Linked DNA regions of Homo sapiens: region 1 is linked to region 2. Evidence: promoter capture Hi-C in 16 types of primary human blood cells and fetal thymus (Javierre and others, 2016). All regions are on one chromosome and are shown on one strand. The core of a region is centred on a gene start or on the middle of the fragment in contact, and the rest is flanking DNA. Distances in the headings are between cores, read along the strand shown. Region 1 overlaps TXK (TXK tyrosine kinase). Region 2 holds the start of ARAP2 (ArfGAP with RhoGAP domain, ankyrin repeat and PH domain 2).

Region 1 (3,955 bases), core at 1,105-3,604, about 12 Mb before region 2:
CCTCCAGATATTCACGCCCTTAGGCAGTCCTCCTCCTTGAGTATGAATTGGACCTAGTACCTCACTTCTTGTGATTAGAATATGGTAAAAGTGATGGAACGTCACCTCTGAGACCAGGTTACAGAGGTGGCGGCTCCCATTCCTGCGATCTCGGGCTTTCTGTCTCCTGCATCGCCGGCTGCTTTGTTGGGAGCACTCTCAGGCAGCCCGCAGAGAATCCCCATCACGAGAAACCGAGGCACCATGACCTGCTTGGAATTCGCTTAGAAGTGTATTCTCCAGCTCTGGTTGGGCCCAGCTTGACTGCAACTCCATGAAAGATCTGGAGACACAAGCACTCAGCTAAACCATTCCAGAACTCCTGGCCCACAAAAGTGTGAGATAAGTGTTGTAAGTCATTTGGTCTCAGAATAATTTGTTTCCAACAATAGATAACTAAGTGTGTGGCAAAAGCAGGAGAAGCCGCAGATTAAAAAAGAACTTGGCCACTTTGGCCACCCTTCTGCCTGGGGCTGGAGTTTGATGCCCTTTCTGAAAGATTAAAATGGACACTAGATGTGTCTTTTCTTTTGTCTTTAAATCATTTCAGTTTTTAACTCGTCACTGCAGCTGCCTTTTGTAACTACTGCAGATCCCCACATTTCTCCTCTGTGGAGCTCCCCAGGCCAGCAGTGCCCACACTCCCTGCCCACCGAGGGTCAGTGAGCAGTACGGCTTCTGGCCCAGTGCCAGCCACGCCCGTGTGCCTTGTGGCCAAGCACTTCTTCACATCACAAGCTGGCTCGATGTCTTGGGTGTGATGTCTGCGAGCTTATTATGAACTTTGAGCTCACAGAAAACAGTGTTCTAGGAAACACTGTTTTGAGATGTGGGGGAGTGGGGAAGTTGTGGGCAAGGTGCCTGCAAAGACCAACTCACATCAGCCCCTTCTGAGAAAGAAAGAAAAATTGCCTCATAGACCAAACAAGGGTTTGGGTGGCTGCTGTCCGTGTCTGGGGAGTTGCCCTGGCAGAAGCTGGGAAACAGATGAGCGGTCATCATCAGGAAGATTTCTGCCTTTCCTTACAGCACCTTTTACTCCCAGAAACATTGTCTTCCCTGGTGCCCGGGACTCCATCCAGCTTGCCAGGCTTCTAGAATCTCCTCACCCCACACAGCACCCCTTCAGGCCATAGACAGGTCAAGCACCACTCTTCCACTCAAATTGATCAGTTTGGTGTCCTGTTAGCTAGGTACTTGTTTTCTCTTAGTCACCAGTGACTCCCCTAAAGTAGTTATCCTCCCTTCTTTAAGGTTTCACTGGCAGTATAATGTCAAAAAAACAGAACAGTCAAGGTCTAACACAAATTACTCACTTATTTTATCCATACATTTAGAAAAACTAACATCTCTGGAGACCATCACTTCTTAGAATAATGGACATTTTAGTATCAAAAGGAAAAGTGCACACACGTGCGAACACAGACACAGGATCACTTCAGACCCCAAATGTATAAAGGGCATAAACTCAGAATAAAGGATAACTTTCTAAATTGAATAAATATGTGAAAAACTCAATGTCCCAATTTTACTATTTTCCCCTCTCCTTGGTGTGGGGTCTTGGTTTGGTGTCTAACTCCAAACCAAGAAGTCTAACTCCAACTTGGAAGTCTTTTCTAACTCCTGTTCAGAGGTAGAAATCCATCCATGCTATAGCCAAGCTAGTTATGTGTCACTCTCCCCAGATAATATGGGTTAATGTGGCTAAAACGTGCCTATCTTCAAAAGGCCCTTAAGAAATGGGGCCTTTTGAAGATAGGCTGGGCGCGGTGGCTCACGCCTGTAATCCTAGCACTTTGGGAGGCCGAGGCAGGTGGATCACGAGGTCAGGAGATCGAGACCATCCTGACTAACACAGTGAAACCCCGTCTCTACTAAAAATACAAAAAGAAATTAGCCGGGCGTGGTGGCAGACACCTGTAGTCCCAGCTACTCGGGAGGCTGAGGCAGGAGAATGGCGTGAACCCGGGAGCAGAGGTTGCAGTGAGCTGAGATCGTGCCACCACACTCCAGCCTGGGAGACAGAGTGAGACTCCATCTCAAAAAAAAAAAAAAAAAAAAAAGGATGTAGTGGTGGGCATTTATGGCAGAGTAATGAGGAAGTTTGGCCTTTCTGTAAATTTCTGGAAAAAAAAACAAAAAGGATATGTTGCAGCAAACTTACAGAATCAGCTCTGGTCACCCAGAGCCATTTTTCCAAAGCCACAAGTTTTTAAGGCTTTCCCCACTCACCACAGCCCATCAACTGCAAAAGCAGCCGGTATCAGACATTCCTCATCTTAAAACCACAACCTGGAGCGCCTGGCTTGGGCAACAAGCCTGGTCTTTGGGTTAAGGCAGCTCTCAAAACTGAGCCAGTTTCAAGCCATGTTTTTAAATATAAATCACTAGCCATGTGCCAGTTATTATGATGACCAAATTCAGTAGGAATGCATTTCACTCAAGGCACTGATTCAAAACGAAACCCTGACATCGGAAATGCCAGGGGATGAACTGGAGGTGACGATGTAAACTTCAAAACATTAGACATGAGGAAGCGACAGCGGCTTTGCTTCCCGCGCAGCCCGGGCCCCACAGTTCTTCACATCTGTTCCTTTGTCCTCTTCAGAGATGACCTTAGGAGCTATTCTGAGAAGGGGTGCTTCTCACTTTTGCTTTCTTCCAGTGCCCCCTGGTGGAAACCTGTTCCCAATCAGCCCAGCTGTTGCCACCCAGGAACCTCTGGGGGTGGAAGGAATGTCAATAGGAGCCTCTCCTAGAGGACAGAGGGGCGCAAATCCTTCCAAGGAAAAAACACAAATACCAAAGATGGGAGGGCCAACTGCCTATCCCATGACAGATGTGCCGGTTTCTAAAGGTCACAGAGATTACATCTGATGCGATGCCCTTTTTCTGATTTGCTGGCCTGAGGCTCATCATTAGAGATATTTACTGAGGAATGAGAAGTAGATGAAAAGAACAGCGCAGATGTAAGCCTGGGAGAGGAAGCTCAGCTCCTTCAGTGATAATCTTCAAGCCCGAATATATTCTTTCCACATTTCCTTCCAGCAGGCAAATAGTCATTGCCTATCTCTGGGGCATTTTTGTCACTCTGGCAAAGGCCCTTGATATGCATGAGTTCCTGCCTAAGTTGGGAATTTGCTAAAAGCTCAAGAGCTTTCCCTCTGCAGGTTAATCGGCAAAACAATTCAAAGAATGGCTTCTGTAATCACAGAATGCCTGTGGAAGGGCGCTGTCTATTTACTTACTGGGAACACCTGTGCTGCTGTAAATTGAAAATGATCATGAAATGAATACTCCTTGATACCTGCATTGGAATGAATTTTGGCCCAACACTTCAACCTGTAAATAAAGATGCCTGCTGTCTTGGAAAGTCATGCCAAGCAAGGGAACACCAGGGAGCTGTTTGGCTTTCATAGTGTGATTTTTCTTCTCGCAATGATTATTTATTGGGCAGCAACTCTGCTGGGCAGAGGATGGAACCACAAACAAAGCAGTGGTTTGCCTTCCTGCTCACCACTGTTCTTGGACTTTGAGGGAAATTAAATAAAATTGGGTCATAATTAAAGCAGTGGTAGGGTAGGTCTGTATCTTTCTTTAAAGGCCATTGTCTTTGCTATTGAATCAGGAAACATAAGAATTTTTGAAAATATTTTCTCCTAAATTCCAGGCTGCAGAAGACAGTGAAGACAACTAAGGGGAATATTATCAGGTGTGGCCATGTGTTGTGAGGTCAGGGAGCTGGGGGAGGCATTTCTCTAGTCCCAGATACTCCTGCCTGCTGACTGATAACAGCAATTTCTCTTTCAAAGTTCTTGACTTGGCCAGGCATGGTGGCTCCTGCCTGTAATCCCAGCAGTTTGGGAGGCCAAAGAGGGGGATCACTTGAGGTTGGGAGTTTGAGACTAGCTTGGCC
Region 2 (4,234 bases), core at 1,377-3,876:
TCTCGAACTCCAGACCTCAGGTTATCTGCCCGCCTCTGCCTCCCAAAGTGCTGAGATTACAGGCCTGAGCCACTGTGCCTGGCCCATACCTTAATCCTTGTAAAGCCAATTTCCCTGTGTACTTTGCTCTCTGAATACCTCACTGTGAAGGTTGCAAAATAAAAAATTTATACCCTAAGAATATAGCCTAAATGTATTCAATGTATTCACTATTTACTACTTAACCTCTTTAAGTTTCAATTAAACCTATATTTATAAAATTGAAAAAAGAATTTTAACTCACACACGTTGTGTATACACAGCATATATGTTAGGTATTTGACTAGAGTCTGGTGACTATCGATCAATTAATAAAAGATAGCTTTTGCCGTATTTCCTCAGACATTTTTATTTTCCTCCATATATTAAGATTCATTAAACCAGAATACATCTTATAACTAATGTATACATTCAATAAGTGAGCATTGTTCTTCTTTATTTCCCAGGGCTATTATGAAGTCATTGTTGTACCTTGTAGCATTTACCTTTATTTCCCCTCAGAAAACATAAATCCAGAGATTGCATTGTATTTGCTAAACACTGTATTTTCAAAATGCCAAACAGTGATTAATAATTTTTAAAGAATAAATGACTGAATAATAATCAAAGAACTAAGATATTTTTGCGAAGAGGGAGAGAGACAATTTCTCAATTAGTTTATAAAATCTACCAAGCGAAGTAACTTGAGGACAAAGCAATGATTGAACCTCCCACACATAAGATAACTGATCTAATAATTTTTATTTATAACCCACCTTGTTTAGAGAAGGACCGAAGATGGCTTACAATGATAAAAATAGAGCCAGGCATGGTGGCTCACGCCTGTAATCTCAGCACTTCTGGAGGCCAACGCAGGCGAATCACTTGAGGCCATGAGTTTCAGACCACCCTGGCCAACATGGTGAAACCCTGCCTCTACTAAAAACACGAAAATTAGCTAGGCGTGGTGGTGCATGCCTGTAATCCCAGCTACTCAGGAGGCTGAGGCGGGAGAATGGCTTGAACCCAGGAGGCGGAGGCTGCAGTGAGCTGAGATCGCGCCACTGCTCTCCACGCTCCAGCCTGGGCGATACAGCGGGGCTCAGTCGAAAACAAAAACAAAAACAAAAAAGAGAGAGATAAAAAAAAAGAGAGAAGTATGTGAGAATTTGGAGAGGGAAAAGGGAAAAAGAACAAAAGAAACACACACACACAGAGAATGAAGCCAGAAAAGAGCCACATAAATAAAATTCCTCCTATAAATGCTATAGGAATCCAGAGAAAAAGTTCCCGTGGTTTGGAAAATGTCAATAAAACTTTCCTGGTGGAAATGAGGTCGGCTATGAGGTATTAAGTTCAAAAGGAACTGGATATTTGGTGTCTCTAGTAAGACAGAGCTGCTTCAGAGTCTCCCCAGGGAAAGACGGTGCTTTGGGCAGGTAGTTAGTGTGGGTGAAGGTGATGACTGAAGAATCCTAAGGGCCCAGGCTTGTGGGAAGCCTCTCTCTTTCCGCACTTCACCAATTATCTCATTTTCATAAGGTCTGCGCTTTCCTTAATTGCTTCACTTCCATCAACAGGAACAGGGGAAAGATAAATACATTTCACCTTTTAATGAAGAGAATTTCAGGTAGTCTGTGGGAGATGTTTATAAAAAAAAAAAAAAAAGCTGGTAGGGGGCAGTGTCTCACGCCTGTAATCCCAGCACTTTGGGAGGCCGAGGCAGGTGGATCACTTGAGGTCAGGAGTTTGAGACCAGCCTGGGCAACAAGGCGAAACTCCGTCTATACCAAAAATACAAAAAAAATTACCTTGGCTGATGGTGCGCGCCTGTAATCCCAGCTACCTGGGAGGCTGACGTGGGAGGATAGCTTGGACCCAGAGGCGGAGGCGCAATGAGCTGAGATTGCCTCACTACACTCCAGCCTGGGTGACAAAGTGAGACCCTGTCTAAAAAAAAAAAAAAAAAGTAGTTGGTCTGTGAACTCACTTGCAAATAACTGGATTTTACGGACGCTTAGATATTTGGAGGTCCACAAGGGTTCTTTGGGATCCCCTATTTTCCTTCGCTGCCTCCTTTGTCAGAGTCCAACTCAAAGGGGAAATGCCCCTCTGGGATCTAACCGCCACAGGTGCAAGAAGGAGCAAATTTACATAGAAGCAGCCTGGGGAAAATAGTGCCCTAGATGAGTCTTCAGTTTGGGAAACGCTGAGCTAACACTTTAAGTACTTGGAAGAGTAATACTAATAATCAGTCGTGGCGAGGTTCCGCCCATTTGACATTCAACCCCCCATGAGTGCGCACAGACAAACCCACTGGCCAGGAGGAGCCAACACAAGGTCCTGGGCATCTCCGTCCCGGGAAGGTGGGTAATGCCCCTGTCGCTCTGGGCTCCAGGGCGCGCCCCCGCAGCTTCCCCAGCGGGGTCTGACGCCTCCGGGCCGAGGTGCGCCAGGTGGCGAGGGTGCCAGGCGCGGCCAAGTCGCGGCGGTCTGAGTCAGTCACCCAACTATGCTGCGGAACCAGGGAGGCCGGCTGGGCCGCCCCCGCCGTTGAGCTCCGGCTTCCCCCGCGCGGGGCGCCTGCTCCCCGCCCCCGCGGGCGGAGAGGAAGCGGCGGCCGAGGCGAGGCGCGGGAGCACCTGAGCAAGGCGCGGGCGCCGGGCTCGGCGTTTCCGGAGCTGAGCGCGGGTCCGCGGCCCGCGCTCCCCGCCTCCAGGTGCGGCGGCCGCGACACGCCGGCCCCACTAACAGCGCCGCCCGCGCGGCCGCCGCCAGGCAGCAGAGGCGACTGCGGACAGCCGGCGGGGACCGGGAAAGAGGAGGCCTGGCGCCTCCGGCAGAGGGGCGAGGACCGAGCGCCCAAGGCTGGGAGAGACGCCGGCGCTGAGCTTCCCAGCGCCGCCTCACCTCGCTTTTCGAACTCCGCGACCCGAGCGCAAGGCGAGTACCCGGGGCCTCGGGAAGGCTGGGCCGGGATGGCCCACGCGGGGGTGGGAGGACCCTGTCTGGAGGGGCTGGGGCTTTTCGACACTTCACCGGGTAAATTTCCTCAGCGCAAAGTGCTCGGCTCTGGTGTCCGCCCCTTGGATTTCGCTCCCGCGTGTGGGCGTCTGAAAGGAAACCAGAAGCCGGTAAGTGATCCAAGAACTCCACTTCTGGGATTTGACCCGGGAGGGTGAGGATCCGGATAGACAGCTGGACACTCCCTCCATTCCTCTCCCCTACCTTTAAATAAGAAGAAGCTGTAGTGAGTTTCAGGCACCAAGTTATTTACTCGGTAGAGATCATGAATTTGCCCGGGTGTCTGTGCTGCCCCGCACCCTGCTTGTTAACCACGTTAAGACGACTGGCCTGTTAATTAACTTTAATTACGATCATTTGGCTTCCACCTGCCTGAACCCGATACCTTACACGGGAACCTGTATGATGTGAGTTTACCAGATTGATCTTTCTTGTTTACTTTTGGAGACAGTTCTCTTGGGAGAAGTGGTGTCCATCCTATTTAATAAAGTAAGTTTTACTTTATCTAATTCTGGCTTGTTTTCTTAAACACCTCCTACCTTGAGGTGATCTGGAGTTATTTTGATTTGGGGAAAGGGTTCGTGGATTATATAGCCTTTGATAATTAGAGGAAAACACAAGAAAATAAGCTAATTTGTGTGGAATAATGACATCTTAGGGTGTTGTAAGTAGGTATCCTGATAGCAAATTCTTTTTTTTTTTTTTTTTTTTTTTGCAAGCTTGTCCTTGAAGTAGGCTGTTCAGTAGAATACAGCCTTCGGTTTAAAAAAAATCAAGAAGTGTATTGAAAATAAGCTATTTTTAAAAGTACATTTAATAGGATGTCATTGTTATTACTCATAATAGTATTGTACTTACAAGCTCAGTATTGATTTATCTGCACTTAAGCACTCTACACCCCCACAGGCCCATGGAACTTTGCCCGTAAGTAATTGGAAGATAAAAAGCAAGCTAACTTTTTTTAAGGAAAAAAAGAGAAATACCTTTAAACTCTTTTTTTTTTAACTCTTATTTATGACTTCCATACACTTACAGGAGAAATATTGAGAGAAAATACTCATGACATTTTTTGTCCAACAACGTTTAAAGAAGAAAAAAAAGTGGGTCATGGAACTAGGCTAGGGTTAAGTGCAAATATCTTCCTGGCTTCTTTCTAAACATATTTAACACATACACATTTAAGGTGGTTCCT

What was found. Contacts are between HindIII fragments. The CHiCAGO score rates a contact against its expected background, and 5 or more counts as called.
Region 1: a fragment that was not itself captured here is called in contact with the fragment with the promoter of ARAP2 in region 2 in 1 of 17 cell types (non-activated CD4 T cells); the score reaches 6.9 in non-activated CD4 T cells.

Annotation. Positions count from the first base shown.
Region 1 is chr4:48,126,709-48,130,663 of GRCh38, reverse strand. The region is part of intron 1 of TXK (TXK tyrosine kinase); the gene reads left to right. Among named protein-coding and RNA genes, the nearest start is that of TXK, 5.6 kb to the left of the region's middle. RefSeq lists enhancers at 1,022-1,141, 2,663-3,525 and a silencer at 3,018-3,312. The HindIII fragment of the contact is 7,843 bases long and covers 1-3,955 here.
Region 2 is chr4:36,242,906-36,247,139 of GRCh38, reverse strand. It overlaps ARAP2 (ArfGAP with RhoGAP domain, ankyrin repeat and PH domain 2), which reads left to right and starts at 2,626. Exons shown (of 33, transcript NM_015230.4): 1 at 2,626-2,961. LOC439933 (a long non-coding RNA gene) reads right to left here and starts at 3,024. Exons shown (of 5, transcript NR_122079.1): 1 at 2,929-3,024; 2 at 1,830-1,968. RefSeq lists a silencer at 2,251-2,830. The HindIII fragment of the contact is 5,605 bases long and covers 1-3,763 here.